Linked DNA regions of Homo sapiens: regions 2, 3, 4, 5, 6 and 7 are each linked to region 1. The links are contacts of gene promoters, found by promoter capture Hi-C in blood cells and fetal thymus (Javierre and others, 2016). All regions are on one chromosome and are shown on one strand. Each heading gives the region's core, a stretch centred on a gene start or on the middle of the fragment in contact. The rest is flanking DNA. Distances are from core to core; before and after follow the strand shown. Region 1 holds the start of AUH (AU RNA binding methylglutaconyl-CoA hydratase). Region 2 has its middle 71 kb from the start of MIR3910-2. Region 3 has its middle 47 kb from the start of MIR3910-2. Region 4 has its middle 54 kb from the start of LINC02957. Region 5 overlaps LOC100129316 (a long non-coding RNA gene). Region 6 overlaps LINC02937 (long intergenic non-protein coding RNA 2937). Region 7 overlaps LINC02937 (long intergenic non-protein coding RNA 2937).

Region 1 (3,716 bases), core at 558-3,057:
AAGTCTGTCCAGACATTCTGCACAAATATTCCTTTAATTGCATTCAAGTCATAACGACCAAAAAAATAGAATATGGTGCATATTAGTAGCTGTACTTGCAATCCCTTTATATCTAACATATTGTTGGTACACTTAACGGAAGTGAAGTCCCGGCATGACTAAGCTTACCCAAAAGATGATGGCATTCAGGCTCTAATCACTCCAGTGCTAGTCTATGCTTCCAGCTGAATTTCTTACTATTCTGCTTATGCCACACTTGCCTTATGTTACGTCCCAAATACACCACACATGTTCACATCTCCATGCCTTTGACCATGTTCTTGTCTCTGTCTGGAATAATAAGTAAGGAATAAAGTCATTCATCACACTCCTGAAGCACTGCTACGTGCTAGTGGCAATTTACATTAACAATCTCATCTCATCTTCATAACAAACCTATAAAGTTGGTATTGTTTTTCCTGTTTTACACGTGAGATAAGTCTGCCCAAGAACCCTCACAAATGGCAAAATCCACTGCCTATTAAAGAATGCCTTGGAACCCCTTTCAAATGGCGAAACCCTGCAGGTATTACAGCCCTTTCCTCTTACCATGCCTTGAAAGTTCACACAGCCTACTAATAACCAGGATCTGCTTCACTACACTAAAACCAATCACGACTTACACGCTTTTCACTTCTGCTTAACAGATTATAGGTGCTCAACAAATGCATGTCAAAATTAAAACACTGGTCCTCTGGCTTAACCCGGAGGTTAAGGGTGGAAACTGCTATTCCACCCTTCACGACCCTTTTAGCTTTTCCCTGCACTGCCAGTGAAAGGAACTGAGCTGTAACAGTATTCCCTAGGATTGTCAGCCTCCTTCAAAGCCTTCAAAGCTCTGTATTGTATTGCTAATGATGTCTCCTCCCGTAGAAGGTAGCTCAAGGGCAAGATCCATACCATCCACATTCTTATCGCCAGAGCTGAGGAAAATAAAAAGTGCTCAAAATTGTTTAAATGAAGTGGAACAGTCCCTCAAGACTAACTTTCTAAGAGAAAATGAACAAGAGGAAAAATTGTTCCAGCTGAGCAGCTTCAAATTTAAGATTCTCCGTAATAATAAAAGGCAGTTTCACCGCAGCTTTTACAACTCCACCACTAATAGCTGAGTTTACAGAAAGCCATTACACAGCAACAATAAAGCCTGGTAGCAAGGATTAAATCCCCAGGGTATATATTGACCTTGGCTTGTCTGGAGCGGAGGGCGTAAGCTGCACTTCTGTTTGCCGCGCTGAATGCGGTCACTTTACAGGTAAGCTGCTCGGGGGTACACGTTTAGGTTATTAAAAGCAAGAAATAGGTGCACAAGGAAGCGGCCACGCTGGGTGAGTAGGGAGGTGAGAAAGGGGAGGGACCCAGGTTCGGTGCGCCTGCCTGACCTCGACCCCGCGTCCTGCCGGCGGACGCTGCACCTTATGCCCGTCCTGAGAGCGAGCGGCCGCCCGCTGCCCCGCGCCTGCCCAGCGTTCGCACCTCACCTCGGTTCTCCTCCTCCAGGTGCCGCACCCGCAGCTCGTCCTCCGTCTTCATCTCAGAGCTGTAGCCCCTTTTCGGGGCGGGACCCCCGGCCGCAGGTACCCAGCCCTGGGCCCAGATCGCCGGGCCCGCTCGCCGGCCTGCCAACGAGCCGGGCAGCCTCAACCCCGGGCAGAGCCACGCACTGCAAGCGGCCACCAGGCGGGCGCCGCCAGCATGCAGGGATCCCAAGGCCCCAGGTGCCGCCGCCACCGCGGCCGCCATGTTGTCTGTTTACGGCGTGGACCTGCGACGGCCGCTCCGCCCCCGCCCGGCGCCGACCTGCCGCGCGCACGCGCACGGCGTCCGGACCCGCCGCCTCGCTCCGGCTTGGCCCCGCCCTCCGGAGCCGTGTTCCCGCCCCTCACTGCCCCGCCGAAGCCCGGTGACCCGAGGCCTTGCCCCATTCTCCAAGCGAGATTGGATGGTTTGTCCAATACAAAAGGAAAGAAAGTAGTTTTCCAAGGTTATGGAATAATTCAGGGAAGACTTTTCTATAAGAACCACCCGGAGGGAATTATCTCCCCGTACTCCCTGGACCATGCCCTGCGGTCCTGTGTTAAGTAAGCTGCAAAAGTGAACAAAAAAGTTTTGTCTCCTCAAGTTGGCTGAAAGTGTGGCAGCCCATCGTTGGTCACTGCCTTACTTATGGATCTCAGGTTGTTGGTTTAGCGTCCCTGATAAGCATAAATGATGTTTACTACGTGGCGTTCAGGAAAAGGATGAGAACAGCAAACAGGCAAAGGAGTTCTTTCTCCAGCCCACCCACTCGTACCGATGTCCCATGGCCCTTCCTGGACGGAAAGAGTCTTACAGGGGTTCAAACAAGCCATACGCTGAGATGGGATTTAGAGTATGTAGCTCTTCCAGAAACTCGGGATATCAATTTAGTGTGTAGGTACTCATCAAAGCACGTTGCAGTATAATTAATGCTACCTAGCTTTTATCAGATCTCTAATGGGAAAGCTTGCATTTAAGAATACTGGGCAGGGGGCGGTGGCTCACGCCTGTAATCCAAGCACTTTGGGAGGCCGAGGCAGGTGGATCACCTGAGGTCAGGAGTTTGAGACCAGCCGGGCCAACGTGGTGAAACCCTGTCTCTACTAAAAATACAAAATTAGCCAGGTGTGGCGGCACACGCCTGTAATCCCAGCTACTCGGGAGGCTGAGACAGGAGAATTGCTTGAACCCGGGAGGCGGAGGTTGCCCTGAGCTGAGACTGCACCATTGCACTCCAGTCCAGGCAACAAGAGTGAAACTCTGTCTCAAAAAAAAAAAAAAAAAAAAAAAAGAATACTGTTTGAAAAGTGTGCTGCTATGAGCATACGTCTAGTGCCACAGAAATTTCTTGTATTTTTTAGTCCTAAGCAAAACATCCTTCATTATGTCCTCAACTTTTATCCAATGTAGAAACAAAAAGTAGACTGAATTCCATTACTGCATCTGCTGTAAAATGATGTTGAAGGCACTTTTATTTTTATTTTTATTTTTTATTTTTTGACAGGTTCTGGCTCTGTCGGCCAGGCTGGAGTGCAGTGGTGTGATCGCCTCTCGCTGCAACCTCTGCATCTCAGGCTCAAATGATCCTCCCACCTCAGCCTCCTGAGTAGCTGGGATCACAGGCACACACCACCACACCTGGGTAATTTTTGTATTTTTAGTAGAGATGGGTGTTTCTATGTTGGCCAGGCTGGTCTTGAACACCTGACATCAAGTGATCCACCCAACTTGACCTCCCAGAATGCTGGGATTACAGGTGTGAGCCACCATGCACAGCCCACTTTTTATTCTATCTTTTGTAAAGTTCCATGCAGGAAAATTTTCCTGAAGTTTACTACAAGGAAAACTTTGCTTCCTTTGTATCTTTCCTCTTTTCTGATAATGATGTACATGTTGACTGCTGGGTGTTGTGATTTTTATTGTTATGGTTTCTTTCTAATTTGGTCTTGTGGTCACCAGAGGGAGGGTAAATCTGGAGGTGACAGGGAGTTCAGCCAGTGGAAGGGGGTCAAGGAAGGGGCACTTGTGGAGCTAAAGCCTCTGTTGGGGTCCAGCGTGTTACCCAAGCAGTTTCCCATGGAAGTTCTAATTGGTGAGTTTAGAACAAGCAGGCACAAGTTCCATGGAGTCACCCTGTCACTGTGAGGTGGTCACTGGAGCCC
Region 2 (3,716 bases), core at 895-3,394, 350 kb after region 1:
TCCTGACCTCAAGTGATCCACCCACCTCAGCCTCCCAAACATTTTGTTTATTTTTAAACATGAATCCAGATGTCCATATTCCTCCCAAGATTTGAGAAGTCTTCAGCCATTATTTCTTTAAATAGGCTTTAATTTCCTTTGTTTCCTCCTCCTAGAAATCCTCAAATGAATATATTCATTTGTTTGATGGTGTCTTGTAGGGCTTGTATACTTTCTTAACTCTTTTTCATTATTTTTTTCTTTCTATTCCTCTAACTGGCTAATTTCAAATGACCTGTGTTTGAGTTCACTGACTCTTCTGCATAATTAAAAAAAAAAAAAAATCTGCTGCTGAAGCTCTCTATTGAATTGCTTAGTTCTGCCGTTGTATTCTTCAGCTCCAGAATTTCTGTTTGATTCTTTTTTCTCCATTAATCTTCTTATTTTATTCATGCATTGTTTTTCTGATTTCATTTAGCTGTCTGTCTGTGTTCTCTTGCATCTCATCAAGCTTCTTTAAAATGAGTGTAGTTGTCCCTCAGTATCCATGGAGGACTAGTTCCAGGACCTCCCATGGATATGAAAATCTGTGGGTGCTGAAGTTTCTGATATAAAATGGCATAGTATTTGTATATAACCTATGCACATCCTCCTGTATACTTTAAATCATCTTAGATTACTTATAATACCTAACACAGTGTAATTCTATGTAAATAGTTGTTATACTGTATTGTTTAGGGAATAATGACAACAAAAAGCCTATCTGTGTGCAGTTGGAGACACGAAAATAGTTTTGATCCATGGTTGACTGAATCCATGGATGCAGAACCCACAGGTACAGAGGCCTGACTTCATTTTGAGTTCTTCATCAGGCAATTTGTAGACCTCCATTTCTTGGGGTCTGCTACTGGAGCTTTATTAGTTTCTTTTGGTAGTGTCGTGTCTGCCTGATTCTTTGTGCTCCATGTAGGCTTGCATTGGTGTTTGCACATTTGAAGGAGCAAACCCTTCTTCTAGTCTTTACAGGCTGGTTTTGGCAGGCAAAGACCTTCTGCTGCCATCCAGACCAATGGGATTGTTTCTGGGATCACAGCTGAGTGGGTTTGGGGCCAGGTTATGTGGCTGTTGCTGGGTCTGCATGGGGTCCATCATTGGTAGGCCTGTTACCAGACATTCAGGTGGGTGATAATTCAGCCTTTGTCCCTGGGCAGATGGAACTGCCTCCAGAAAATTGGGCAGTAGGTCTGGCACTAGGACAGTAATCCACTTCAGAGTGCTCAGTTGGGTCTGCAAACAGTGGGCCTGTTACCATGTGTGTGGATGAGTGTGGCTTCTGCCAGGTCCCTGAGACGTCTCCTATTGGGTCACTGGGAAAGTCTCTGGGTGGGGAGGACTGACTTTAGGCTATGGCTGAGTGGGGCTAGAACTAAGTCACAAGGCTGCTTCAGAGTCTACAGCACAGACTGAGGTCTGCAAGTCTGCCTCCAGGGGTATGGATGGGTATGCCTCTTGCTGGATTCCTTGGTGGGCAGGACTGCCCCAAATCATGGCTTAGCAGAATTGGGGCTGGGTCACAGGTCACTTCATTATCTCCAGTTGGACTGAGGTCCAGGGTCTCAGTTGGGTGTGTCTCCATCTGATGCCCTTGGTGAGCAGAACCATTCTCAAGCCATGGTTGAAAGGAGCTGGAGCTTGTTACGGGGCTATTTCAGGATCAGCAGTCAACCTTCAGTCAGTGGGCATGTTACATGAGGCATGGGTGAGCATGACTCCTCCTAGGGCCTTTGGTGGATCATGTTGGTGGCAGGACCAAGGCCAAATGGGGCTGTAGCTGAGTCCACAGGGGAATAGGCTGTTTCCAGGTGTGTAGCTGGGACCACAGTCAGTGAGCCTGGCCACCTGGGACTGCCATAGTCAGTGAGCCTGCTTTCTCAAAATGGCCCTCCTTGGTCATGGCCTCCACCAGAGTTTTGCAACCTCCTACCTGGATCCCAGAGCTTGCACACAGGCATTTTGTCTGTGGATGGCTGTAAAACTGTTGTTGCTGTAGGGGATACAAGAAAGGGAACTCCTTTTCCACCATCTTGCTAAAGTTACCAGAAAATCAGTTATCACTTTTTTTTTTTTTTGAGACAGAGTCTCGCTCTGTCGCCCAGGCTGGAGTGCAGTGGTGCAATCTCAGCTCACTGCAAGCTCCACCTCCCGGGTTCACGCCATTGTCCTGCCTCAGCCTCCCAAGTAGCTGGGACTACAGGCGCCCGCCACCATGCCCAGCTAATTTTTTTGTATTTTTAGTAGAGGCGGGGTTTGACCGTGTTAGCCAGGATGGTCGCAATCCCCTGACCTCATGATCCACCTGCCTTGGCCTCCCAAAGTGCTGGGATTACAGGCGTGAGCCACTGCGCCCAGCCTCTTTATCACTTTTAATGTCAGAAAATAATGAAAAAATAAATAAATTCAGTTTACTATTCATTTAACAAGTTACTAGCAGAAGTAGAACACTCAGAAAGGAAAGGGTCGAAGACGAGGCCTGAGTGAGGATGTCAGAGGGAGGAAAGAATGGGGGTGGATTGCAGAGGAGAACAGAGTTAAGAGTTGAGGAAGCTCTAAGGGCTCTGAAAGCCAGTGTCACAGCAGTGTGGACAGGAGGATGGGGGTTGGGGATCTTTCCTGTTTGTGAATATAAATTGTGCTTGCTTTTTATTGTTTTTAAATAAGATAGTAGTTAAGCTCTAACTTTTCCTTAGAATGCAGCTTTAGCTGTATTCCATAATTGTATTCTTCTTTCATTAATTTCTAGATACCTTGACATTTGATTTTGATTTTTTCTTTGATCCAGGGTTTACCTAGAAAAGTGTTCAAGTAGTTATTATTATATATTTTTTTTGAGATAACGTCTTGCTCTGTCGCCCATGCTGGAGTGCAGTGGTGCGATCTCAGTTCACTGCAACTTCCACCTCCCTGGTTCAAGCAATTCTCCTGCCTCAGCCTCCCGAGTAGCTGGAATTACAGGTGTGTGCCACCACACCTGGCTAATTTTTGTATATTTAGGAGAGATAGGGTTTTGCCACGTTGACTAGGCTGGTCTTGAACTCCTGGCCTCAGGTGATCCACCTGCTTCAACCTCCCAAAGTGCTGGGATTGCAGGCGTGAGCCACCGCACCTGACTGGAAGTAGTTATTTTTCTGGTCATATTAAGATTTACGGGCCAGGCATTGTGGCTTGTGCCTGTAATCCCAGCACTTTGGGAGGCCAAGGTGGGAGGATCACCTGAGGCCAGGAGTTCAAGACCAGCCTGGCCAACATGGTGAAACCCTGTCTCTAATAAAAATACAAAAAAAATTAGCCAGAGGTGGTGGTGGTGCATGCCTGTAATCCCAGCTACTGGGGAGGCTGAGGCATGAGAATTCCTTGAACCCGGGAGGCAGAGGTTGCAGTGAGCAGAGATCATGCCACTGCACTCCAGCCTGGGTGACAGGGCAAGACCCTGTCTCAACAACAACAACAAAAAGATTTATGGAATTATGGTCAGCAAAAACAGTTTGTAAAGTTTCTACTTTGGGGATTTTAATAAGGCTTACTTCGTTGTTAAGTACATGATTGATTATTAAAAATGTGCTATAAGAAAAACTTGATACTATGTGTATGAACCAAGGTTATCAGTCTGCCTAATTAGACCAAGCTGAGGGATTGTGTCCTTCAGAACGAAATGTTTGCAGATATTTTTTCTGACTTGC
Region 3 (3,716 bases), core at 424-2,923, 320 kb after region 1:
CTCTTCACACGAAATAATTCACAGATGAAGAAGCGCCCATAATGGGGCCACCCATCTGTATTAATTGTGAGAAAATACGCTCTCCCACCAGCCAAGGGCGCCGGGAGTCAACACAGGCGCTGCCAAGGCGCAGAGGAGCGGGCGCTGCCAGGACTCGAGCGCCATCTACAGCCCGCGGAGGCGCCGCACGGACCCCACAGGCAGGAAACAGCCTCGGGCAGCCGGGCTGCCAAACTGCACTCCCTCGAGAGAGATCAGTGTAGACGGAGAATTTCAGTCCTTTTGCTAAATTTATATATAATTTTATTTACCAAAATAAAATTTTATTTATAAATGTATAGTACAAATATATGTATTTATACAGAAATATATGCTGTATATATTGCGTGCATGTATATGTGTGTATATATATATTTATGTGTGTGTGTGTTCTTAAATATACTTAAATAGACAAGTGTTTTAAATAGAATCGGTCCGATCTCCAGTGCTGCCACTGAATCTCCGTTTGATCTCTGATGATCGCTAAACTCTGGGAACCCGAGGTCTCCACTTGTCCGCGGAGACTGGTCCCACTTATCCAGCACGGCTGTTGTAGTGATTGAGAGAGATAATGTACATAAAACGCTTACCCCAGAGTCTGAGACAGAGAATTATAACACTATTAAGAATGTGATGACAACCATTTGTTCATGTACCTAGTTATTTAACCAATATCTCTTGAACCTGCTGTGTACCCAGCCCTCGCTGGTTATTGGGGGATACAGCAGTGACCTGGAAAGACAAGGACCCTTCCCTGCTGGAGCTGCAAGCTCAAGTCATCTGACTTTGAGAACAAATAAAACAGGCAGGGGAAAGTAGGAACTAGCGCATGTTTTAGAACCGCGGGTGAGCATTCAACTACAAGTTAATGTAATAGGCCCTGGGAAAGAGTTAATATAAACATTATCTATTTCTTATCTGGATAAAACAAACCCGGTGGAATTGGTTGGAACATTCCAACCATCGTATGCATTAGCCAGGAAAATGACTTTCAGAAATCATCTGTAAGTCAATGTATTAGTTTTCTATTGCTACATAACAATTACTTCAAACATTATTGCTGCTTCAAACAACACGCATGTATCATCTCTCAGGTTCTGGGGGTCGGAGTACAGGCATTGCTCAACCAGGCCTCTGCTCTGGGTCTCTCAGGCTGAAATCATGATGTCCCCAGGGCTTGGTTGTGAAAGCTCCCTGGGGTGGTGTGTTAGACAAAGTTTGTGTCATTGCGTGTCTGGGACTGACTCATGGCAACTTGCTTTTTCAAAGCCAGCCAGGGAGAGAGGGACCAGAGTGAGTGAGCTGGCAACAGAGTCTAATCTAACATACCCTCACCACCGGAGTGACAGCCCATCACCTTTGCCGTATTGTGTCTGCCTAAGCAAGCCACAGGTCTCACGCACAGTCAAGGCAGGGGTCACACAAAGGTGTGAACATCCGGATGTGGGGACCCTGGAGGAGGTCACCTAAGGTTCTGCCCACCACAGACACTGTCACAACTAATTCCCAAAACATATAAAATAGAAAAAGGAAAAAATATAGTGATTATTTCTCAAGTACATCTTATTTCACAAAATAGAGCTAATCCAAGATGTGCCCTGCACCTCACCACAATGATTCCCCCATGTAAATTCTGAAGACTGGGTTCATTACCCAACAATTCAGAATTTTTGCAATGCTAAATTTCATGATGGGTTGCCTGGTCAAGAAAAGCTAGGGCGTTCCAAAAGAAAAATAAACAACAGAATGCATGATGAACTCTCTTAGGACTTGCAGAACCATGTCTCACATATGAAGAGTAATCTCATTTTGTAGATAAATGGAAACTACCTATCAATCAAATATTTACTGACTGGTTTCCTAGGAGGGTGACCCTCAAGTATCCCAGTTCCTCCCCATTATCAGAAGTGAGAGAAAACAGCACTGGTCATGTGGCCTTACAAGCAATTCAGAGGCACAACAAAAAGATGGCATTCTTCTGCATACAGCTCTACTGCCCAGATGATAAGGTTAGTAGATTAGGACTCATTTATTGCGATATAAGAATGTAATTTCTCAACCTGACTTAATGTATCTGCAAACATGACAGCATAAAGAATAAAATATTAAAAATAGAATATATTTGTTTTAAAGAAGCATTTGTGGGTTTTTTTGTGGTTTTTGGTGGTTTTTTGTTTGTTTGTTTGTTTGTTTGTTTTGAGACAGGGTCTCACTCTGCCACCTGGGCTGGAATGCAGTGGCGTGATCTCAGCTCACTGCAACCTCCGCCTCCCAGGTTCAAGTGATTCTCCTGCCTCAACCTCCTGAGTAGCTGGGATTACAGGCGTGTGTCACCACGCCAGGCTAATTTTTGTATGTTTAGTAGACACAGGGTTTCACCATGTTGGCCAGGCTGGTCTCCAACCCCTGGCTTCAAGTGATCCACCTGTCTTGGCCTCCCAAAGTGGTGGGACTACAGGCATGAGCCACCGCGCCCAGCCAAGAAGCATTTGTTTTTAAAATGTGTTTAGAAGAATCAACGAGTGGAGAAAACAGTCTGCAAATAGACTTCTTCCTGTGTTATGCATACTGTGACGGTGTGTCACGGAAGTGCGTTACACTCATAGAGAAACATCAACTTTTAATAAATGGTGCTGGACAATTGCCTATCCTGCAGAAAAATAGGTACGTTTTATTTTCCTACCTCATATCACACACTAAAATAATATATTCTAGATTAAATACCTAAATGTGAAAAGCAAACTTTAAATTTTTTGTAAGAAAATATTGTCTGGTATTTATGAGACATCTGGATGTGGAAAGAATTGTTGAATAAGACACAAGTCATCATGTAAAATCTGGTTAACTCCATTATGTTAAATGTAAAAGATTTCGTGGGCGAGGTATGGTGGCTCATGCCTGTAATCCCAGCACTTTGGGAGGCTGAGGTGGGCAGATCACGAGGTCAGGAGATGGAGACCATCCTGGCTAACATGGTGAAACCCCTTCTCTACTAAAAATACAAAAAATTAGCCAGGTGTGGTGGTACGTGCCTGTAGTCCCAGCTACTCAGGAGGCTGAGGCAGGAGAATCGCTTGAACCTGGGAGGCGGAGGTTGCAGTGAGCCGAGATCGCACCACTGCACTCCAGCCTGAGTGACAGAGAAAAGAAAAAAAGATTTTGTGAGACAGATATTATAAAGAAAGATAAAATTTGAGCAATATACTAGAAAAGATATTTTCAATTCATCTAGCCAGCTAATGATTAGTATCCAGAAGATGTAAAGAGTTCATGTGGGACAATAAGAAAATGACAAACTACTCAGCAGAAATGGCCAGAAAACATGAAGACTCAATTGATGGGAAAACACCCAAATGACCAGAAACTGTGAAAAGGTGTTTGACCTCTCCAGTAATCAGGAAAAAAAAAATGAACACCAAATTAAAAATGTCCATTTAAAAATCTAAATGAGGTGCCATTTCATACATATCCAGTCAGCAAAAGTAGCAGAACAAAAGGACAATACCAGTCACAACAGTTAATATTAGCCGTCAGCTTGACTGGATTAAGAATATCTAGAAGCCTAGTGGCACATTGTTTTTGGGTGTGTCTGTGTGTCTGTGAGGGTGTTTCCAGAGGAGGTTAGAGTGTGTCTCTGTGTGGACTAGGTGGGCAAACTCTGCCTTCAGTGTGGAAGG
Region 4 (3,716 bases), core at 605-3,104, 310 kb before region 1:
AACAAGAAATAAAAGAAAAACAAGAAGTAAAACTATATTCACAGATGATATGACTTTGTATATAAAGGATTTTAAGTACTTCACAAAGTAATCTATTAGAGGCAATAAACAAAAGCTGAAGGAGCTCATCACTACAAGACCTGCCCCACAAGAAATGCTGAAGGCAATTCTTCAAGTTGAAATGCAAGGGTGCTAAACAATAACATGAAGGCATATGCAAATGTAAATTTGGTAAAGACAAATATGGAAACAAATACATAATACCGTAATACTGTAATAAAAGCTTGTAAATCTCTTTTAACTCTAGTATAGAAGTTAAAAGACAAAAGTATTAAGAATAGCTATAATTAGGCCAGACTCCGTGGCTCATGCCTGTAATCCCAGCACTTTGGGAGGCCAAGGCAGGCGAATCACCTGAGGTCGGGAGTTTGAGACCAGCCTGACCAACATGGAGAAACCTCATCTCTACTAAAAATACAAAATTAGCTGGGCGTGGTGGCGCATGCCTGTAATCTCAGCTACTTGGGAGGCTGAGGCAGGAGAATCGCTTGAACCCAGGAGGTGGAGGTTGCAGTGAGCCAAGATCGCGCCATTGCACCCCAGCCTGGGCAACAAGAGCAAAACTCCGTCTCAAAAAAAAAAAAAAAAAAAGAATAGCTATAATTACCAAAATGTGTTAATGGATATGCAATATATAAGATATAAATTGTGCTATCATTTACATAATGTGGAATGTGGGGAGACTAAGAGTATAGTTTTTGTATATGATTGAAAGCTTGAAATAAGATGATTTACATAAGTAAGCTTTATGATAACCACAAAGAAATTACCTATGGTAGATACACAAAATAAAAAGAGAAAGGAAGCAAAACATATCATTACAAAGAAATCATCAAATCACAAAAGAAGACAGTGAAAAAACAAAAAAGGGACAAAAGAACTACAAAACAAATAAAGCAAATAAAATGACAATAGTCCTTGATTATCAATAATTTCTTTAAATAAAAATGGATTAAACTTCTTAATCAAAAGATATAAAATAGCTGAATGGATTTTAAATAACAATGGATTAGAGATTTAACTGTGCTATCTAGGAGAGACTAACTTTAGATTTAAGGACATACATAGGCTGAAAGTAAAGGGATGGAAAAAAAATATTCCACGCACATGGAAACCAAAAGAGAGTGGGGGTGGCTGTATTTATAACAAACAAAATATGCTTTAAGGTAAAACTGTCCAAAGAGACAAAGAAGGTCAGTGTATAATAATTAAAAGGTCTATTCATTCGGAAGATGTAACAAGTGTAAATATACACTGTATGCACACAACATCAGAGCACCTAAATAGATAACGTTGACAGGTCTGAAGAGAGAAATTGACAGCAATATAATAATAGTAGGAGACTTCAATACCCCACTTTCTGTAATAAATAGAACATCCACACAGAAAATCAGTAAGAAAACAGCGGGCTTTAACAATACTACATGCCAAATGAACCTAATAAACATGTGCAGAATATTTCATCCAATAGCAGCAGAATACACATTCTTCTCAAGCTCAGATGGAACATTCTCCAGGATAGATCACATGTTAGGTCACAAAAATAAGCCTTAACAAATTTAAGAAGATTGAAATCATGTCAAGTATCTTTTTAAACCACAATGGGATAAAACTAGAAATCAATAACAGAAGGAAAACCGAAAAATTCACAAATATGTAGAAACTAAACAACACAATATTGAATAACCATTGAGTAAAAGAAGGAATCGAAAGGAAAATAAGAAAATATCTCAAGACAAATGAAAATGAAAACACAACAAACCAAAACTTACGGGATGCATCAAAAGCAGTTATAAGGGAAAGTTTACAGCAATAAATGCCTACATTAAAAAAGAAAGATCTCAAATCAACAACCTAACTTTAGAGCTCTAGGAACTAGAACAAACTGAGCCTAAGTGAGCAAAGCGAAGGAAATAATAATTATTACAGCAGAAGTAAACAAAACAGAGAACAGAAACACATTTTTAATATCAAGGAAACTAAGTGTTTGGTTTTGGGGAAGATAAATAAAATTGACAACCCCTTAGTTAGACTAAGAAAGAAAGAGAGAAGACTCAATTAAATAAAATCAGAAATAAAAAAGGAGACATTACAACCGATACCATGGAAATAAAAAGAATTATAAGACATTATTAGGAACAAATTTCTGCCAATAAATTGGATAACCCAGAAAAAATGGACAAATTCCTAGAAGCAGGCAACCTACTAATACTGAATCATGAAGAATTAGAAAATCTAAACAGACTAATAATAAGTTAAGAAGATTGAATCAGTAATCAAAAACCTTCCCAAAACAAAATCCCAGGACCACACGACTTCACTGGTGAATTCTACCAAATATTTAAATAATTAGGACCTGTTCTTCTTAAACTCTTCCCCAAAAAATGAAGAAAAGGAAATATTTTCAAACTTATTTTAAGAAGCTATAATTACCTCAATACCAAAGCCAGACAAAGATACTGCAAGAAAAGAAAACTACAGATCCTGTATTTTTACATTCATTCCTGATTAACATAGACGCAAAAACCCTCAATAAAATACTAGCAAATTGAATTCAGCAGCCCATTAAAAGGATCATACATTATGATCAAGTGGGATTTATCCCTGGAATTCAAGGATGATTCAACACATGCAAATCAATAAATGTGATACATCATACTAACAGAATAAAGGATAAAAATCACATGATTATCTCAACAGAAATAGAAAAGCCATTTGAAAAAATTAACACCTTTTCATGATAAAACTTCTCAAAAACCTAGGTATAGAAGAAATTTACCACAACATAATAAAGGCCACATATGAAAAGCCCATCACTAACATCTTACTCAATAGTGAAAACCTGAAAGCTTTTCCTCTAAGATTAGGAACAAGGCAAGGATGCCCACTCTTACCACTTCTATTCAACATAGTACCAGAAGTTCTAGTCAGAACAATTGCTAAAGAAGAAGAAAAAAATGTCCACATTGGAAAGGAAGAAGTAAAATTACATATTTACAGTTGACGTGATATATGTAGAGAAACCTAAAGACTACACACACACACACACACACACACACACAAACACACACACACACTGGTTAAAACTAATAAATGAATTCAGTAAAGTTGCAGGATATGAGATCTACCTACAAAAACTAGTTGTATTTTAATATACAACTAGTATCCCCTAACAACAACTATCCCCCAAACTATCCCCCAACAAACTATCCCCCAAAAATTAAGGAAAAAATATCCATTTACAACATCATAAAAAAGAATAACATACTTAGAAATAGATTTAAGCAATGAGGGGAAAGACTTATGCACTAAAAACTACAAAATGTTGATGAAAGAAATTAAAGAAGACACAAATAAATGGAAATACAACCTATGTTCATGGATAGGAAGGCTTACTATTGTTAAAATGTTCCCATTAATAGTATATGGCTCAAAGTGGTCTACAGATTTAATGCAATCTGTCAAAATCCCAACGGCATTTTCTATAGAAACAGAAAAAACATTCCTAAAATTCATGGGATCCATGAAAAATCCTGAGTAGTCAAAGCAATCTTAAGAAAGAAGAACAAAGCTGCCTTCATAATACTTCCTGATTTCAAAATATATTACAAAGCCATAGTATTAAAACATATGGTACTGGTATAAAAAAGACATAC
Region 5 (3,716 bases), core at 844-3,343, 290 kb before region 1:
TTTCTCAGATTCTCCAACACCCCTTGTACTTTTCTGCCCAGCTCCCCCATGGTCCTGCAGGGTCTAACCACTGGAAAGAATCCCTCATCTGCACCATGCATCTTGCTTCTGCTCTCCTGCTGGGACCCTGCCCTGCAAAGCTCACCAGGAAGATAGCTCCCCACAACAGCCAGCAGTCCACAGAACCATGGCGGGACAGGAGGCATGAACTCCAGGAATCACCAGGGCTGACCTTCTGGCAGAGAGGAGACAAGTTCCGATTGGAAGTGAGGAGGAGTTCTGAGTAGGGGCAAGGAGGGAATAACATACAGGGTTTGAGACTATTTTATTCACCCGTTCACTCAGCAGACTTTCCTGGGACCTGCTGTGTCCCTGCTCACACCAAGTCCTCACCCTCTGGTGGGGTCAGGAGTCAAGAGATGGTGCTGGGCCAGGCTGGCACCAAAGGCTGGCTTCCCACCACCAGGAGCTCAGATCCGGACAATCCCCAGGGAATGTTTGAACCACGGCCCAAGTCATTGGAACCCAGAATGACTGCCAAGACACACTCATGGCATAATTTGCCCAGGGGCTTGGGCTTCCCACCTGCAGATGGAATATTTTCGGGAAACTGCACAGGAGGCTCGAAGGCCTGCCAACAAGTAATGCAAACCATCTAATCAGCCCACTGTGATGTCGGCACCCACTAGGAACCAAAATATATAACCAGAGTCATGGAGGTAAATTTCAGAAGACAATTCGGCCATCTCAGAAACAAGAAAGCCCCACAGGTAAGTAACTGTGAATGCAGGCTGCAGCTGGACCGTTGCGGCAGCCAGGGAAAGAGTTGTGGGAAGGAGTCATCAGGATGAGATAGAGAAGACAGCTGGAGACGGCAAGAAGTCAGCTGAACAGCTGAGATGGGCGAACAAGGAGCCACCGTTTACTGCAGCTCTGCTCCCACACGCTGCCGAACACGCCTCTGGGCTTTCCAGATGGTTTCTCCTGTTGATTCTGTGCTGAAAGCCCTGCCCCTTGGAGAAATACCTGGAGGATCCAAGTGGCTTCCATTCAGAGAAGGACAAATTCAAGAAGCTATGCTATGACCTCTGTGTGCAATGAAAAATCAAACTGGATTGATGTACCACAGTCAACAAGAAGGTTAAACGGAAGATATGAAAAATGCAATCATGCCTTGGACAACACATACTGGACACTTACCATGAGTGGGGCAGTGGAGTCAGGAAAGCATGCGATGTTAACTCACACGCCCAGCCGCTGCTCTCATCCAGTGTCTCATGGCTTCGAGGGAAATAATAGCAACAGCAAGCCACGTTAAGACAGAGTCTTGCTGCTTCTTTGAGTGACACTGGAAGAAAGCATCCCTGTTCAATAATGGGAGGGCATGTTGCTGTCTAAGTCTTGGCAGTATCAGAAATCCCCTCTGGCACAGCAAGTGGTCAGCACAAGGGTGTAGCCAACTGCACCCACACCAGGAGGACATGGTCTGGGGGGCCAAAGGTACAGGCTGATGCCTCATCCAGCTGGGAACCCATGCTCTGCACATGGCAGGCAGCACTTGAGCAAGGGAGGGCTACAGAGAACACCAGCTCTGGGGCAGATGGGACTCGGGGATCACCAGTGGTACCTTAAATAATTGGCTGCTCTGTTAAATGGAACCTCTCGCACCTGCCTTGCTGAGCTGCGGTGAGGATTAGAGACCACGTAAGTGAAGCACCCAGTGCCTAGCAGGCCTACAGTAGCAGCTGCCCGCAGGAGTAGCGGCAAAAGCAGTGGTAGAAGATGGAGTCTACAAATCTCTGCAACATGCAAGCTGGAGACACGCAAAGTTGAAACGTGGATGTGGATGTCCTCTCCAAGAATGCCCATGGGAATGCAGTCCAGACAGAAGAATGGAAGCAAAGCTTCTTCGGCCATCAGCTAGTTTTCTTGGGAGTGTTCAGGAAAGAAGGTTATCGAACTGCCTGGTCAAGGTCACTGCTGTGAGCAGACAGGCATGGCCCTGGAGGGCCTCCTGGGATTCCCACAGAAAGTCTCCCAGAGTTCTCCTAGAGGAGGCTGACCCTTCTCCACTGGCACCTGTCCCTTTGTTGGCAGGGGTTGCCCCAGGGACATAAACAACCTGCATCTTTCACTATGTTTGCAGACAAGCCATCTCTGCTGCTAAAAGACCACCAGTCACTCTCCTGGGTGGTGGGAGCCTCTCCAGCTTGCTACAGTGCATCCTTCCAGGGAAAGTGATCCAGCTGCCCTGAAACCCTGGCCTGGGGTTCAAAATTCTTGAAGCTTGGAATTGGGGGGCTGGCCTTTTAGCTCTCTCCTATGCATCTATGTGCATCATTAACTCCTTCTATGGGTTTTCTAAGCAAGATGTAAAGCTCCCTAAAGGGCAGAAATCTTGTCTCAGAGTTCCTGTTATTGTCCCAAGACCTGCACACATCTCTACCTATTTGAGGTGCTAAGTACAGTGAAGCACCATGCAACAACATTTCAGCGAAGGACAGGCTGCATATACAAAGGCGTTTTTAATGAGCTGCCCTATGGAGGGATACCATGTTTTATCTTTTATACCATATTTTTACTGTGCCTTATCTACGTTTAGATAGATTTAGATACACAAATACCACTGTGTCTGGTTGCCTGCAGTACTCAGTACAGTCCCATGCTGTACAGGTTTATGGCCTAAAAGCAATGGGCTGAACCCTATAGCCTGGGTTCATAGCAGGTTCTACCATCAAGGTTTGTGTGAGTGTATTACAGGATGCTTGCACTATGACAAAATTGCCTAACAATGCATTTCTCAGGACGTATATCTGTTGTGAAGCAATGCACAACTGTATTTTCTGACTACTGTTCTTGCCTGCTGATAAGTGAGAACCAAGTGCATAAACTCTAAGAGTCCCTTTGGCATTCTTGGTTTAACCTGTGTATTAGTCAGGGAAACAGAACCAATAGGGTGTGGGGGTAGGGGCAGTGGTGAGAGCGAAAAACAGAGAGAGTCAGGCAAGCCTCAAGATCGGTGGGGCTAACGGGCAAGCTGGACCCCGGGGCAGCCAATGGTGTCAGTTACTGTCTGAAGGCCACGGGCTTGAGACCCAGGGAGAGCTAGTTTTCCATTCATGTCCAAAAGCAACAAAAAAACCAGTGTCCCAGCCGGCTCGGTGGCTCATGCCTGTAATCCCAGCACTTTGGGAGGCCGAGGCAGGCAGATCACCTGAGGTCAGCAGTTTGAGACCAGCCCGACCAACATGGGGAAACCCCATCTCTACTTAAAAATACAACATTAGCCAGGTGTGGTGGTGCATGCCTGTAATCCCAGCTAGTCAGGAGGCTGAGACAGGAGAATTGCTTGAACCTGGGAGGCAGAGGTTGCAGTGAGCCGAGATTGTGCCATTGCATGAACCTGGGAGGCGGAGGTTGCAGTGAGCCGAAATTACGCCATTGCACTCCAGCCTGGGCAACAAGAGTGAAACTCCCTCTCAAAAAAAAACAAAAAAACAATGTCCCAAACCAAAGGCCATAAGATGGGAAGAATTTTCCTTTCATCAAGGGAAGGGCTGCCTTTTTATTTTATTCAGGCCTTGAATGGATTGGCTGAGGCCCACCCACATTAGGAAGAGCCTGCTTTCCTCAGTCCACTGATGCAAATGTTAATCTCATCCAAAATAATGTTTGACCACATATCTGGGCACCCCATTGCCAAGTCAAGTTGACAC
Region 6 (3,716 bases), core at 618-3,117, 280 kb before region 1:
CTATTAAAGGGTGACTGGAGGGACCCTGTGGTATTGGAAATGTTCTGATCCTGACTATCAATGTGCATACACTGGTTGAGATACTTTATTTTAGCGTTGAAAAATCCTACCCATTGGAGGAAACTAGGGAAAAGGGTACAACAGGATCCCTGTGTATTATTTCTTACAACTGCATGTGAATCTACAATTATCTCAAAATAAAAACATCTAATTTTAAAAAATGGGACAAAGCAAACAGAAAAAACAATAAATTTGAAGGAATGCCAACATCATGTTCATGCATAAAGGCAAATCTTTTACTGAATAATAATGCACAGCAAGTCGCAGGAGAAAACTTGGGGAAATGATTTCAGAATCCAAAGATTTCATGAATAATGACTACTTCATAGTCACAAACATTGTTTTTAAGTGTCATAAAGGTTCTAATATTTACCCTGAAAACTTATAGCAATATTTTCTTTTTTTTTTTTTTTTTTTTTTTTGAGACGGAGTCTGGCTCTGTCTCCCAGGTTGGAGTGCAGTGGCGTGATCTCAGCTCACTGCAAGCTCCGCCTCCCCCGGTTCACTCCATTCTCCTGCCTCAGCCTCCCGAGTAGCTGGGACTACAGGCGCCCGCCACTACGCCCGACTAATTTTTTGTATTTTTAGTAGAGACGGGGTTTCACCGTGTTAGCCAGGATGGTCTCGATCTCCTAACCTCGTGATCCGCCCACCTCTGCCTCCCAAAGTGCTGGTATTACAGGCGTAAGCCACCGTGCCCTGCCAGAAATATTTTCAAAGCCTGAAACCATTGTTGTTAGTGGACTCTAGATGGATCTCTTAATTGTTAGCCTTCACTACAGGAGAACACAGGCCAAAACCATCTGCAGACAACAAATCATACTCAGGTTGCCAAGAGCATTACCAGTCCCACGTTATTTAAACCATTTCACCAAGAGCTCTTGTTTTACAGCCTTCCATGATGTGTTGACATATTCACACACTTGTGACGTGTGAGCCTCCTCCTTCTTCCTTTTGGAGTGTGAGGTCTGCATCTGCCTCTTTCCCTTCCCTTTTCCCTTGTAGATCTTTCCTTTTTTTTTTTTTTTTTTTTTGAGACACAGTCTCACTCTGTCGCCCAGGCTGGAGTGCAATGGCACAATCTCGGCTCACTGTAACCTCCACTCACTGCAACCTCCGCCTCCCAGATTCAAGCGATTTTCCTGCCTCAGCCTCCTGAGTAGCTGGGGTTATAGATGCCAGCCACCACGCCCAGCTAATTTTTTTGTATTTTTAGTAGAGACGGGGTTTCACCACTTTGGCCAGGTTGGTCTCAAACTCTTACCTCAGGTGATCTGCCCGCCGTGGCCTCCCAAAGTGCTGGGATTACAGGTGTGAGCCACTGTGCCCAGCCCCTTGCGGGTCCTTTCAATGGCTTCTTGACAGTGTATCTCAAAGTCGGGGCTGGCCGACTGAGTCTCCCAGGGATTACAACTGTCCTGTCTGACCAACGAAGGCTTGTCCCAGACTGACAGGGCAAGTTACTTTGGTCACCCGCTGGGACACAGTGTCCACAATGTAATTTCTTTCTTATTCATCCAACCTGTTACATGGACCTAAAAATAAATTGGGGATTCTGTCTTTTGATCTGGATACAGCTTTCTTTAAAAAATTAGAAAAAGGGACAAATTTCATCCCATTAACGAAACATGCTAATACAACTGGTAATATATTTCTCATGTCCCCAAGTTTTAATAGTGGACAATTTAACAAATTTTGCACCTTTGGAGTTGGACTTGATGGTACATTGAATATCAAAGGGACTTAGTTGCCTCACAGTATTCACATGCTCATATGTATTCGTTCTCTACATTAATGGAAAAAACAAATTCTGTCAAATATTTAAAGAGGTTTATTCTGAACCAATATGAATAACCATGGCCCAAGGGAATAGTCTCTAGAGGTCCTAAGAAAGTGTGTCCCAAGCAGTTGGGTTATAGTTTGGTTTTATACATTTTAGGCAGACAGAAGTTACAGGCATCAATACATGTAAGGTTTACATTGGCTCAGCCTGTAAAGTTGTGGAGAGGGTCAGGGCAGAGTAGGGGTGCTTACAGGTCATAGTTGGGTTCAAAGATTTTCTGATTTGCAATTGATTGAAAGAGTTCAGCTTTGTCTAAGAACTTGAACCCAGCAGCAAAAAAAAATGCCTGAGTTAAGATAAGGGGGTTTCAAGAGCCAAGGATAGAGGGTAAATGTCTCTTTTCAGACCTCAAAAGGTGTCAGACTCTTAATCTCTATTTTGATGTTAATGCTGATCAGTTCTGCCTGAACTCCAGAATAGAGGGTGTATAATGAGGCATGTCTGACCCCCCTTCCTGTCGGGAATTCTGTTTTATAGGTTTCTCTGGGGTCCCCTTGGCCTACAGCGAGTCCATTCAGACAGTCAGGGGAAGGCTTAGGATTTTATGTTTGGTTTACATCTATTGCTGTCTAAAAAATTATCCCACAATTTATTGGCTGAAAGCAACAGTAAATGTTTATTATCTCACAGCCTTTGTCAATAAGGAATGCAGGTATGGCTTACCTGGGGGGCTCTTGTCAGGTTCTTACATGTGCTTGCGGCCTAAATGTCAAGTGAATGCTAAAAAAAAAAGAAGCCAGGCTGGGCACGGTGGCTCACGCCTGTGATCCCAGCACTTTGAGAGGCCAAGGCGGGCAGATCACCTGAGGTCAGGAGTCCCAGCCAACCTGACCAACATGGAGAAACCCCATCTCTACTAACAATACAAAATTAACCAGGCATGGTGGCCCATGCCTGTAATCCCAGCTACTCGAGAGGCTAAGGAAGGAGAATCGCTTGAACCCGGGAGGCGGAGGTTGCGGTGAGCTGAGATTGCACCATTGCACTCCAGCCTGGGCAACAAGAGCGAAACTCCGTCTCAAAAAAAAAAAAAAAAAAAAAAGAAGCCAAACACAAAAACACACTGGGATAATGTGACTTATAATAAGCAATACATATATTTGGTTTTCAACTACCTCTCTTTCCTGACATATGGCTCCTAAAACACTTGGAACCTCCCAACTGATAAGTGCCTTTTGTATGCTAAGGAGATGACTGGTGACTGGAGGCTTCTGGACAGCCTCAGGTTAGGGGCTGGTTTCCAGGGGGAACCAACCTTGTGATTAGAGCATCTGGACTTTCAGCCCCATCCCCAGCCTCCAGGGAGGGGAGAGGGGTTGAAAGTTGAGTTGATCACAAATGGCCAATGATTGAGTCAATCATGCCTATGCAATGAGGACTCTATAAAGGACAGGTTTTGGAGAGCTTCTGTATAGATGAACCCATGAAGGTTCCTGAAGGATGGTGCAATCACCCAACCAGATTCTTCTTGCACACAGCCCAGAAAAGTCAGTGCACTGAAAACAGCAGGCGTTGCAGCAAAGAAAGAGTTTAATAATCACAGGGCCAGGCAAGTGAGGAGGACAGAAGATAATTCTCAAATCAGTCTCCCTAAGAATTCAGAGGCTACGGTTTTTAAGGGCACTTTGGTAGACAAGGGTCTAGAGAATGGGAAATACTGATTGGTTGCATTGAGGATGAAATCACAGGGCTGTCAGAACTGTCTTTGTGCAGCTGAGTTCCTGGGATAAGGTCACAGGTCCAGGTGGCGTCATTTGGTCTGCCAAAATACTGTCTGAAAAATATCTCAAAGACCAGTTCTTTAGGTTTCACA
Region 7 (3,716 bases), core at 516-3,015, 260 kb before region 1:
CCCCCAATCTGCAGTGGAGGAGGTTTTAAGCAGGCAGTGGTTAAATCCTGGAAGGAGAAATTAGAGGAAATGAAAAGACTCTCCCAACTTGGATGAGAAAGTGGTGGAGTGACAGGGTGGGCAAGACCCCAGCAAGCTGTCCGGGGCCAGGCCCATCCAGGAGTCCGGTGTGTTTCAGTGTCTGCCCAGGCCTCCTGTCTAGGAAGCTTTCCTGCCAGGTTCAGAAAATGAAGAACATAAACCACAGGACCCTATTTTATGGGTAGAAATAATGTCAATGAGGGCAAATGGAGAAGAGTGAGGCAACAGCCACATCCGTCCAGGAAGGATGCCTGGGACACAGGTGGTTCTGCCAAAGAGCCAGAAGGATGGAAGGAAATCTCAAAATTCAGATGAGAAGCCAGACAGTAGGAAAGCCAAAAAAGCACAATCTAATAATTTAGAAAATGAAAGAGGAGGAGGGCTGTTAAAGATATTCTCTGCTCCTTCGTAACATCTCAGCTCCTCTCTTCCTATGTAGAAATAAACGCTCACTGCAAAAGGCAATGATTTGCTTAGAAAAAATTCATTTAAAATGTCTTGCAATTATTGACACTGTCATCAGATCTTGGCAGTAGCAGCTTATTATTACCTCCTATGTATGTTTGCCGGGAGAAGAGTCTCATTGTTTAGGAGGGAGAAATAAAGCAAAAGTCCAAGGGTATTGTGCTTGAAATACATGCCTAGAGATATGGAGTTGATTGCCCCAGAAAAAAAAGGAAGCCTATGTGTATATTATTATTCACCTCGGTAGCCCGAATCCTCTATTTCTCTCTCTCTCTCTCTCTCTCTCTCTCTCTCTCTCTCTCTCATACAGTTGAGCTCAGCTGGGCAGCCATCCAAGTGATTCATATTAAATTCTAGCTATATTCAGCACAAAAGTCATCTAGCATCAGAGGATCAAAGTTACATCAACTAACAAGCACTGGGGGATTGATAAGCTGCTAAAATTAGGTCATTGCATAGCAGCAGCCTTTGATGGATGAAGTGAAATTTAGCCGCGGGTTTGCTATTTAAAGATCTGTTACAGCACCCTTTCCTGTAGCCACAATGAACACACAACAAAGTATCATGTGTCTGATTAAATGTTTAATCATCGCTGTTGAGCTTGCCGACTGTGGCAAAGATTCAGTTTCCTTAAGAGTGCATTCAGCTCTTGGGCCAAGCCAGTACCTGCATTTTAATTCCCACATCCAGAGCCTTACAACAGGGCCCATTTCTCCCTCCTCAGGATGAATTCTGTAAAGTTAGTTTAATCGTTTTTAAAAGCATTTGGTCACACAGTTCCACCTCTAAGTCCCTGTCAGTTCAGTGTTTCAAAACTCTTCGTCAGCGTCACACACACACACACACACACACACACACACACACACACACGGCTCCAGACTGCCCAGTGGATGCAGCAACTGGTCTGGTGAGCGCATTTCTGTTTCTTGCTCATTCCCTCAATTTCAGAATCACACACCTGTCCAAAATGGCTCACGTCTCTCTCTTCTTTGGGACTGTTTTTGTTTCCAGATGGGTTAAGGTGGGGATTTGACTTCATTTGGTTTAGGTTTTGGCTGTGGCTGAGGCCCCAGGCATGTGGCAGTCACCAGTTCTGATTTCATAACTCCCATGGCCAGGCCAGGAGCCACACAGGAAGCCGGAAGGGGCCTCGGGTCAGTGTGTCCTGTCCCAGCAGCACGGGGTGGGGGACTGTGTGCCCCCAGGTGTCCTATCCACCCCTCAGCTCCAAAGGGCATGTGGACATGCGTCAGGTCCCCTGAGGCCATCTACAAACACCAGATGGACTGTTGAGCTTCCCAGGCTCAGAACCTAAGAACCCGCAACTGGAAGGAAAAGGCAGCAGAAGATGAGAAAAACGGTCAGGGAGGAAAGAAAACACTTTAACCCAAACAAAGTTTAAAATAAAATAAAGAGTGGTGAACACTCAGCTGGGAGAGGAGAGGAGGCCTCTGTGGGCAAAGGGAAATGCTGCTGAGAGGCAGCTAAGCCTGAGTCTGGAAGACTGGAGGGAGGCAGCTCCAGGGTGAGCACCTGGAGTGCACAAGGCTCTGGAAGGGGAGGGCAAGGGGTATCACCCTCCCCAGAGCCCCAGGGAAGCCTGATTCATCAGTACACCCAGGAAGGGGCTGGCTGCAGCGATAGCCCCCTGCCCAGTTGTCCCAGATGAACCCTGGGCTTGGAAACAGTCCAGGGACACTGGCAGACTGAGAGCCACCGGAGAGGGTCACCCCGTCCCCCTCCTGCCTGTAGGGGCACACAGGTTTCCCACTAACCCTCAGTCCCAGTTGACCAATTACCAGATAAGAAGATTGGATCCTCCTATCCTTACAGACACAAGGACACAGGTGGGAATGGCTTTTCATATGCAAATTCCATGCCATTTGCTTCCTATTCCAGCCAAACAGTTGTGCAGAAGATAAAACGAATCAGGGAGTGCTCCAGGGAGTGCTCCCGGCTCTCAGGAGTACTGTAGGGAGTGGAGACAGGAAGGAAGCCATGACAGGGAAGGTGACAATATTGGCCCGGTGCTCTAGATGCAGTTCTGCAGGCGCTCACTGAAGAGACTGCTGGAGAAGGCAGGAGGATGTGCTCGCGGTTTCCTGTGATGTGGTGAGGGCAGGTGGAGCTTCAGCACCCAGAGGCTGGAGGGAGATCCTTAGGTGGCCCAGGTGACGCAGGAGCCTGGGCTTTCACTCAGATTCAGACCAGAGAGACAAAGTAGGAAACTTGATTTTAAACCTGGGAGTGGCTGAGTGCCTTGTTCTTGGCTATGTTTCAGTGTGATCTTACACATAGCTACCCAGCACATCTGTCTGTCTTCGTTTATGTTCCTTCAGAAGCCAACCCTAAAATAACATCCAAGGGCAGGCAGCAAATTTGGGAAGTTATCTCTGGGAGCACTGTAGGGAGTGGAGACAGGAAGAGAGACAGGACAGGGAAGGTGACAGTAAAACAGCTGCCCCATGGACAACTAGAGCCTAATCCCTCTTGGGAACTCCAGGTTCCAGTCCCATGAAGGAAGGTAGCTGGAGTGTGTGAGCCACTCCCATAGCCACTGGTGGAACACTGCTGGGTGCAGGTAGGGCATTACTTCTCTGGCATTCCAACCTGCTGAATCTTCAGGAAAATCAGGCTCTAATGGCCAGAAAAAGATGCTGGAGGGTGGCAGTTTACAGGCATGCACTTTCACAGTAGTAGGATGGGGCTAGGAGCTGAAGAGCATGTACACAGCACTTGCTACAACATCCAAGATTTTATTTTCAAGAGATGCTTTCTGAAAGCTTAGAGTTGAGCCCTATGTCATGGGAGATAGGAACAAAAAAACCTCATTAGAGTCACAAGTTGTTTTCAAGGTTAATTCAAAGGGTCACGTCTATTCATGTTCAAAATCCCAGCCATGTGTATCTTTACACACAGTAGATGCTCAGATCATCCACCTAGGTGATGAGATGTATCCCGGGCATGTGGGCACTTCAACCAGAGGCCTATCCTTGAGGCCAGTAAGTTACTGCACGTACATTACACCAGTATGATGCTGTCATTATTAATCACCTTCATCTATGTCATTTAAATTGTATCAGGATGGTGTTGTAGGTCATGTTGGCTGATTTTATTTTCCAAAGACAATGATGTTGGTATGAGCCATCCCACAAGCTCTCTGTATCGTG

What was found. Contacts are between HindIII fragments. The CHiCAGO score rates a contact against its expected background, and 5 or more counts as called.
Region 2: a contact is called between a fragment that was not itself captured here and the fragment with the promoter of AUH in region 1, in 1 of 17 cell types (naive B cells). The highest score is 5.1, in naive B cells.
Region 3: a fragment that was not itself captured here is called in contact with the fragment with the promoter of AUH in region 1 in 2 of 17 cell types (M2 macrophages and megakaryocytes); the score reaches 5.4 in M2 macrophages.
Region 4: a fragment that was not itself captured here is called in contact with the fragment with the promoter of AUH in region 1 in 12 of 17 cell types (activated CD4 T cells, total CD8 T cells, naive CD4 T cells and 9 more); the score reaches 15.6 in activated CD4 T cells.
Region 5: a fragment that was not itself captured here is called in contact with the fragment with the promoter of AUH in region 1 in 4 of 17 cell types (activated CD4 T cells, total CD8 T cells, megakaryocytes and 1 more); the score reaches 9.6 in activated CD4 T cells.
Region 6: a contact is called between a fragment that was not itself captured here and the fragment with the promoter of AUH in region 1, in 7 of 17 cell types (megakaryocytes, M2 macrophages, activated CD4 T cells and 4 more). The highest score is 9.5, in megakaryocytes.
Region 7: a fragment that was not itself captured here is called in contact with the fragment with the promoter of AUH in region 1 in 13 of 17 cell types (total CD8 T cells, naive CD8 T cells, megakaryocytes and 10 more); the score reaches 18.2 in total CD8 T cells.

The regions. Positions count from the first base shown.
Region 1 is chr9:91,360,111-91,363,826 of GRCh38, forward strand. AUH (AU RNA binding methylglutaconyl-CoA hydratase) reads right to left here and starts at 1,808. Exons shown (of 10, transcript NM_001698.3): 1 at 1,518-1,808. The coding sequence starts at 1,779. RefSeq lists a silencer at 1,539-1,978. The HindIII fragment of the contact is 2,357 bases long and covers 162-2,518 here.
Region 2 is chr9:91,705,230-91,708,945 of GRCh38, forward strand. No RefSeq gene overlaps it. Among named protein-coding and RNA genes, the nearest start is that of MIR3910-2, 71 kb to the left of the region's middle. The HindIII fragment of the contact is 3,312 bases long and covers 489-3,716 here.
Region 3 is chr9:91,681,743-91,685,458 of GRCh38, forward strand. No RefSeq gene overlaps it. Among named protein-coding and RNA genes, the nearest start is that of MIR3910-2, 47 kb to the left of the region's middle. The HindIII fragment of the contact is 6,199 bases long and covers 1-3,716 here.
Region 4 is chr9:91,049,147-91,052,862 of GRCh38, forward strand. No RefSeq gene overlaps it. Among named protein-coding and RNA genes, the nearest start is that of LINC02957, 54 kb to the left of the region's middle. The HindIII fragment of the contact is 2,105 bases long and covers 803-2,907 here.
Region 5 is chr9:91,065,529-91,069,244 of GRCh38, forward strand. LOC100129316 (a long non-coding RNA gene) reads right to left here. Exons shown (of 4, transcript NR_033912.1): 3 at 1,201-1,348; 4 at 1-1,088. Among named protein-coding and RNA genes, the nearest start is that of LINC00484, 52 kb to the right of the region's middle. The HindIII fragment of the contact is 382 bases long and covers 1,903-2,284 here.
Region 6 is chr9:91,081,972-91,085,687 of GRCh38, forward strand. The region is part of intron 5 of LINC02937 (long intergenic non-protein coding RNA 2937); the gene reads right to left. Among named protein-coding and RNA genes, the nearest start is that of LINC00484, 35 kb to the right of the region's middle. The HindIII fragment of the contact is 6,963 bases long and covers 1-3,716 here.
Region 7 is chr9:91,099,324-91,103,039 of GRCh38, forward strand. LINC02937 (long intergenic non-protein coding RNA 2937) reads right to left here. Exons shown (of 6, transcript NR_184105.1): 4 at 2,346-3,343. Among named protein-coding and RNA genes, the nearest start is that of LINC00484, 18 kb to the right of the region's middle. The HindIII fragment of the contact is 3,123 bases long and covers 205-3,327 here.